Regions from separate parts of the Homo sapiens genome. Here region 1 is linked to region 2. Evidence: promoter capture Hi-C in 16 types of primary human blood cells and fetal thymus (Javierre and others, 2016). All regions are on one chromosome and are shown on one strand. Each heading gives the region's core, a stretch centred on a gene start or on the middle of the fragment in contact. The rest is flanking DNA. Distances are from core to core; before and after follow the strand shown.

Region 1 (3,857 bases), core at 1,090-3,589, 620 kb before region 2:
GACTTCATCTCAAAAAAACAAAAAAAAAAACAATGTTAAAGAGCTGCTACCCCAATGGCAAATAAATGAATTATTTCAGAAAAAAATTCAAACAGAATTAAATGTGGTACAACCAAACATTTTTGAAAGATGGCCAAAAACAATAATGCTACTAAGTCTATGACTTGAGAGTGGCTTCCTAATGTTTCAGCAAAATAGTAGTTTCTGTCAGTAACGTTAGTAGGTTATAGCACAGGCCAATCACCCATGAGTCAAATCCCAGTCACTTGCTGGCTTAAAATCAAGAAAAATCCTACTTTACATTTATAGTTATCAGAGCTACACTGCAGACACAGCCTCTGAAATGAGATTCGTATTTCAGTACTAGATAAACACCACTACCTCTGAGAAATGAAATCTCATCTATGTGGTAATAAAAGTAATGCTGGGCCGGGCATGGTGGCTCATGCCTGTAATCCCAGCACTTTAGGAGGCCAAGGTGGGCAGATCATCTGAGGTCAGGAGTTTGAGGCTGGCCTGGCCAACATGTTAAAACCCCGTCTCTACCAAAAATACAACAATTAGCCAGGCATAGTGGCGCCCGCCTGTAATCCCAGCTACTCGGGAGGCTGAGGCACGAGAATCGCTTGAAGCTTGAACCCAGGAGGCAGAAGCCGCAGTGAGCAGAAATCATCGTGCCACTGCATTCCAGTCTGGGTGCCAGAGTAAGGCCCTGTCTCAAAACAAAACAAAACAAAAGTAACGTTGGGCCTAAACATTCAAAAAATTGGAACAACAAAACAATTTCAAAGTTTCAAAACTATAAAATGTCATTAAATATTTTTAATATTGCTACGCCTGAAAGAATACAATCTAACAATTTACAAGCTAAGTTTTCAAACATACCAATTTTTTTTCCACAGTGCCAAGAGAAAATGCTTATTAGATGAATATATGAAATTTTAAACTTATTAATTACAGCCAAATGAATTTAGAAAGCAGAGTTACAGCTGTAAACGTATTTATAAAACTTTTTGACTTCTGATATCATTCTACTCTGAAAATTAGTCAAGTGTGGCAGTTAAATAATTCTCCATAAAAATCAAGCTCTCATTGCCAATTAGGAATTCAATTTTTTAAATATCACATAGATATTCAGTTGATTATCAACAGATTAAAAAATTAATCTTCTACAGATGTTAAAAGAGAAATTATGACATAGTCTCTTATTCACTTTCCAAGCTTTAGTTTCTTTTCAAGCTTCAGTTTGACCATCTGTAAAATGGAGATAAAAATGTCAACTTACACAGTTGCTGTCACGCTTAAATGAGAAATTGACTGGCAAAGCAGCGCCTCCAAAATGCTAACTTTACAGGGGAGCGAAGGAGAGAGCAGAGGAAGGGAAAGTGAAAGATAAGTTTTACTTCTAGTTTTACAAACTCCAGAATGAAACAACGTTTCTAGGTCCCCATCATTAAAAGTAATGAAACAGTTTAACAATACCCCAGGGCCTGCTCTTGCCTGTGATCATACCATGTTGGGAGGTGAGTAGGGGTAGGATTGCTTGAGCTAAGGAGATCCACAGCAGCCTGGGCAACACAGCCAGACCTAGCCACTAGTTAAAAAACAAACAAATGGGGGCCAGGCACAGTGGCTCATGCCTGTAATCCCAGCACTTTGGGAGGCAAAGGCGGGTGGATCACCTGAGGTCAGGAGTTCAAGACCAAACTGGCCAACGTCGTGAAACCCCATCTCTACTAAAAATACAAAAATTAGCCAGGCATGATGGTGGGCACCTGTAATCCAAGCTACTCGGGAGGCTGAGACAGGAGAATTGCTTGAACCCGGGAGGCGGAGGTTGCAGTGAGCCGAGATCACCCCACTGCACTCCAGCCTGGGTGACAGAGCGAGACTCTGTCTCAAAAACAACAACAAAAAACGAACAAACAGAAAACCAGCCGGGTGTGGTGGCACATGCCTGTAGTCCCAGCTTATTGGGAGGCTGAAGTGGGAGGATCGCTTAAGCCAGGGAGATGGAGACCAAGGCTGCAGTGAGCTGTGACTGCACTGCACTCCAGCCTGGTCAACAGAGTGAGATCCTGTCTCAAACAAAAAACAAAACAAACACAAGAACAACAAAAAATGCCCCGTTATCTACTTTTTTAAAGTCTGTGAACTAGTCAAAAAAACTTCAAATATTACAGCCCTTCGGCTAGTATCATACTAGCTGAAGTTGTATTTCTACACGTTGGTTAGGGGGATCTTTAAGAAGAAAACCGAAAATAGAGATTTGATCTAAAATAGAATGAATGAACTGAAGCCCCTAAACTAAATCACATTCAAGTAAAAGCAGGACTGGTGAGCAAAGGAATAAAGTGTGAAAGAAAATCAGTACTTGATCTCAGAAGCTAATAAAGAATGTATAATGCAAGCAGGGATTCTGAATCAATTGCTGAGTTTTCCAGGAAGACTTTGTAAAAACGTGGGTGGACAAAGTGTCAAAGCATAAAATACTTGCACTATCAATGGTTTCAAGAATCCACTCTGTAGACTAAGTCTTTAAATTACATTCTGGGCAAAATTGAGCATAAGCTGTTGCTCTTCTCATAAATTTGTTTTTGTGTGCACCAGTCTCATGAGTGAAAAATAAATGTACATGACTGTATTAGTAGTACTACACTGCAGTATTAATACTGCTAACACTATCCTAGTAGTATTACTACTAGTAGTATTAGTACTGCTAATACAGGCATTTACCTTTATTTTTCCCTGCTTGCATTAACTTGCTTTAACTTTAGAGAAAGTAGATAACTGGGCCACTGTTTTTTGGGTATGTTTGTCTGAGACAGGGTCTCACTATGTTGTCCAGGCTGGAGTGCTGCAATCACAGCCCACTGCAGCCTCAGTCTCCATTCTCCCTGGCTCAAGCTCACTTCATTAGAATCTTCTAACAAAAAGTAAAAATAGCTTGGGAGGTGTGGGGTGATACGAATTAAAGACCACCAAATATTGTTTCAGTCAGTACAAAAGGTCTCTGTGGGAATTTTCATTAGGGAGATAGGAGTGGGAAAAGGGACTGAAAAGGCAAGATTAAATGTAGGATAGGGACAGGGATTTAAAAAGGTAACTTTTGTTCCAAAATCAGCACAAGGAAAAAACCTTCAGATACAGTAAAAGCCAGAAATGAAGAGGCCCAGGCTTTTCCTGGGTATGAATCAAGTATGTTCTTCCAAGAAGGAAGGGAAGCCTGCTACTTACCTTCTAGTACCCACCACACCAAGAGAGATTGGTGGGGGGTTGGGGGTAGAAGACTAAATTAGATTTCCTTCACACCAGGCTTTACCAAAGCAGCCATGATTTAAGAACACTAACACCATAAGAAAAATCTCTCCTCACCTGCTTGCTGAAGCTGAAAATCCTGCAGTAAGTGAAAAAGTTCTTCATTCTGTAATTACAGATAAAAAGCTTAAAATCAGAAGCTTGGTTGACATCACACTTGAGCATTTTAGGTTAGATTTAAAATAAAATTCACCAGTGAATGGTAAAATATCAATTTTACCCAACCTGCCCTTTTGTAGAAGGGGCAACACATCGGTTAAGAGAGTCTCTGAAATGGGGAAGAAGGTTAATCTACCCTGAGAGAAATAGCACAGAGGAAAAAGCAGCTTGAAAGGCAGAAGGCAAACTTCAAAAATGTCACAATTTTGCCTAGGTTAGGTCTAAAGAGCAAAACAAACACATAAAGTACCATCATACTAAGGTATTTTTGTTCAGGGACCTATCAATGAGCACAGTGATGATTCACATGTCTATGAAAATGTGCTTTTTAAACTAGTCTGACTTGACTTATCAAGAATTCTTAACAAATCACTTTCAAC
Region 2 (4,237 bases), core at 1-2,500:
TGTCTCTCTGTCATGCAGAGGAGCTGTAGTTCAGTTTTTGTTTTTTGTTTATTTTACGGAGCACATTTAAAGTATAGTCTTCCTTGTCAGGAGATTCCTGGCACTAAAGAGATGGACGGGAAACTTAACCGCCTCCTCCAGATCGTCCACTATTGCATCATTTGAAACCAAAGCCTTCTAAAGGCAGCGACTCGCACAATTCAAGTCAGGTAAGATGGCAGGAACAGCAGCTGTGGGTGCTGGCTGCTGCTGGAGCCTCGGTCTCAACTTCAAGAGCAGGGAGAGCGCTGTCTCTGGAGTTGCCAGGTGCTGAAATGAATAGTCAATAAATCAACAGGTCCGGCGCGCTAGCCCCTGGGTGCTCAGGCCCGGGCGCGCCACGACTGAAGGAGTGGCTAATTACTCAAACACAGTTGAAACCAAAGGAGGCCGGAGTCGGTTCTCAAAGTGGTTTCCCTCCGGCCACCACCGACTCTGAGGACCTGCTAGGGGAAGTGTCCCGGCCCCGTGGAGGGAGAGGGAAGCACCACAGCCTGGGCTGCGGCTCTAGCCCTCCAGCCCCAGCCCCTGGCAGCCCTGCCCTGCTGTCGCGGCAGGTACCCCTCTACTCATTGTTCCTCAGGCTGCCCCCTCTTTTCATCAATCGTAAGCCTTTCGGTTCTGCCACCAGGAAACTTCCATAGAAGGTGAGATTCCCAGGTCGAGGGATGATTCCACGAACACCCAGAGAGCCAGTGCCAGGACTTCAGGGTCAGACTTCGTAAAGCCCAGGCGTCGCTGGGCCGGCCCGGAACAGCTCAGAGCTGCGGGTCCTATGGTCCCGCGCCCTCACGCCCATCCAAGTGCTGGCAGGACGTGGGTCCTCCATCCCCACGACTCGCGGGGCCGGCGCTCCGAACCTCGGCACTGCGTCCGCTCCGCGCGCCGCAGGGACCCTCCTAGCTCCAGCGGGGACAGACCTACCAAGGCCGGGCGCCCCCACCCGGCGCCCGCCAGCCCACCCCAGAGAGGGGACCAAGGGGGCGGGGCCTCGGCCGTCCTAGCCGGGCTCACTCTTCTCTCCCGGACTCCTGTCCAGGGCTTCAGGGGCCGGGCCCGCAATCCCCATCGGATCGTACCTCGTCCGCTTCCAGCTCCGCTCGGCTGCCTAAGAGCGCCATATTCCTCCTCTGGCTGCTGCCACCCAAAAACCAAGCAGGGAACTCAGAGCCGACTCCTGCTCTCGGCTCTGGGCTCAGCCCAGCGCAAAGGAGGGCAAAAGGGGACGGCCCGGCGCTCCCTCCGGGTCTCGGGCGGGGCCTGAGTGCAGCTACTCGATTTCCCCGCCCCCGGAGCCGGCAGGCCAGCACAGCATCCATTTCCTCCCCGGACGCCGCGCCGCTGGCCGGGCCACTTGCCCGGCCCCCAGCGGGCGGCAGCCCCGCCCAAGTGGGTGGAGTCACCTCCCAGATAAAGTTTCCCGGTCTGGCACGCCCTCTGGGAGGGTTTCCTAAGCTTTCCTGCCGCCTGTTCTCTGCGGTGGCTGGGCACACCTGGAAAGAAGCTAGAGAGCGCGGGCATGACGAAGCCAAGGTCAAAGCAGCGCCCCACCTGGGGTCCGTGGAAGCATCCACCTGGTCTTTGGTCCGGTGCCAGTCCTTTTCCCTCGCCAGGTGGCCACCGCATCTCGCAGATGGTGTGGCCTGAGGGCAGCCTTGGGTCACGGTCACTGGTCCCCGAGAGGCCTCTGACACACCACCCACCTGGACTGTAGGTGGAAGGACTCTGCTTGCTTCTGTGTTCAAAAAATAGAAAAAAACGCGGGACAGAGATTTATACATATTGGAACTCCTCTACTTCCCCCTACCCGGACAGTGTATTCTCCCCATAGCATCCTGTATTTTGTAACTCCAAACATAGGTGTATAATTCGTGCTTGAACTATAAACTCCATGGGGGTAGGATGCTATCTGTCCTCTTCAAGACTGTATCCCCAACACCCAGAACAGTGTCTTGCACATCGTAGGTGCTCAACAGATATTTGTTGGCTGAGTTTAGAAACTGAACCTTGCTTCTGACATGTAAAATAACTGGAAAATTAAAAGCTAGATCTTTAAGAGTTTGGGGGAGAGAGGTCAGATTTACTTTACATACAGAAAAATGCACCAAGTTAAATGTGTGATTCAGTGACAAGTGTTTACAAAGCATCCCAGTCATAATATAGAACATCCTGAAAAGTTTTCTGTGACCCTTTGCTGTCAATTTCCTACCTCCGCTCCCTAGCCTCTGTCAATCACTGATCTGCTATCAACATCGATTTGCCTTCTCTAGAATTTCATATAAATTTAATTAGAGCATGTGGTCTTCCATGTCTGGCTCATGAAAGGCTATTTAATAGTCATCCAGTGATAACTGTAAAAACAGCTAATAGTTCTTGAGTCCTTACTATGTGCCAGGACTCTACTGAACCTCTTGCATATAGTATTTCATTTATTCTTCATAACCCCATAAAGTAGGGTGCTGTTCTCTTTCAGATGAGTAAACTGAGGCTCAGAGAGTTCAAGTAATATGCCTGAGGCCAGACAGCAGTTAAGTAAGTAGGGATGCCAGCATCTGAACCCCAGCAGTCTAACTCTAGGGCCTAGCTGATAACCATTGCTTTGTACTGTACTGGCTCTAGCCACCCTCCCTCTCTTTCTTTCTGTGTCAGTAGAGCAGTTGTCTGTGCAAGTCCATTACATACATTTTCAGTGAGTCACTTTGCATCCTTAATACTTGCTGTACAATTTTAATGGCTTGGCATGTACTTTTGTACTAGAATAATAAAATGGTTTCTACAGCAGAAACATTGAAAAAATGGGTTAGATCGTGTGATGGTTGCTCAACTCTCTGAATTGTCTAAAAATCCTTGAATTGTGTACTTACAATAGGTGGAACTTATGATTATGTAAATTATATCTTAGTAAAGCTGTTTTAAAAAAACTAGCTGACACAGGCTAGGTGTGGTGGCTCACGCCTGTATGGGATTACAGCACTGGGAGACTGAGGAAGGAGGCTAACTTGAGTTTAGGAGTTCGAGACTAGCCTGAGCAACATAGCAAGACCCAATTTCTAAATAATAATACTTTTTTTTTTTGAGAGACAGTTTCACTCTCATCTCCCAGGCTGGAGTGCAATGGCTCGATCTTGGCTCACTGCAACCTCCGCCTCCTGGGTTCCCACTAATCTGTAAATTGCTTAGAAGGAGGCACTATCTTATTCATCAGTGCAGGTACTCAATAAAAAAGCTCCAGGTGCAGTGGCTCATGCCTGTAATCCCAACACTTTGGGAGACCGAGGCGAGCGGATCACGAGGTCAGAAGTTCGAGACCAGCCTTACCAACATGGTGAAACCCAGTCTCTACTAAAAATACAAAAAGCAGCTGGGCATGGTGGTATGCGCCTGTAATCCCAGCTACTGAGGAGACTGAAGCAGGAGAATTGCTTGAACCCTGAAGGCGGAGGTTGCCGTGAGCCGAGATCGTGCCATTGCACTCCAGCCTGGTGAAAAGAGTGAAACTCCGTCTCAAAAATAATAATAATAATAATACTTTTATTATTTAGAACACATGCTCTGAACACTTAGAATCAGATGGACCAGAAGAGACATAGAGTTTGTTTAATTCCAATACCCTTGAAAGTTTCCATTCCTTCCCAGACCCCCAACCCACTCCTACCTCCTCCTATGTTTCACTTTCTGAGGCTAGAATTCCTATCCAGGTCCAGATTCTACTCTGTATTACTCATGCATGGTTCTGTTTTTCAAAGTTCATTGGTTCCTGAATTGATAGCACATCCTTTTGACATGAAGCCATCTCACTGGTAGCTTCTTCTCCCATATGCTGTTATTCTGCCTTTGGAATTTCAACTCTTCAAATTTTGAAGAGATCCAAACAAACTTCGCTCTAATTAGTGACAGAATTATGTTATAATGAAAATCGAGTACAATTTTTCAAAAATCTATACTTATAATTGAAGCTTGATTGGTGTTTTTGTTGTTGAATTTTTTACATATCAGGGATCAAACCTGAAGTCTCGTATGTTTTAAATTCACGGCAGGAGATAAGCAACATTCATGTTTCAATTATAAACACTGAATGAATAAATGTATTCTAGCCACTGGAACGTCTAATCAAATTTGCTTTGCTCAGGGCAGCTGTCAGCTTTGCCTATACAAGAGTGATTTTATCGTGAATCACAAATATAAAAGTTTTTCTTCA

Evidence for each region. Contacts are between HindIII fragments. The CHiCAGO score rates a contact against its expected background, and 5 or more counts as called.
Region 1: a fragment that was not itself captured here is called in contact with the fragment with the promoter of TTC39B in region 2 in 1 of 17 cell types (total B cells); the score reaches 8.4 in total B cells.

The regions. Positions count from the first base shown.
Region 1 is chr9:14,686,962-14,690,818 of GRCh38, forward strand. ZDHHC21 (zDHHC palmitoyltransferase 21) reads right to left here. Exons shown (of 10, transcript NM_178566.6): 2 at 3,376-3,424. Among named protein-coding and RNA genes, the nearest start is that of ZDHHC21, 4.5 kb to the right of the region's middle. The HindIII fragment of the contact is 2,205 bases long and covers 1,238-3,442 here.
Region 2 is chr9:15,305,966-15,310,202 of GRCh38, forward strand. It overlaps TTC39B (tetratricopeptide repeat domain 39B), which reads right to left and starts at 1,251. Exons shown (of 20, transcript NM_152574.3): 1 at 1,119-1,251. The coding sequence starts at 1,160. RefSeq lists enhancers at 1-452, 1,016-1,578 and silencers at 816-1,135, 1,166-1,505. The HindIII fragment of the contact is 2,405 bases long and covers 1-1,492 here.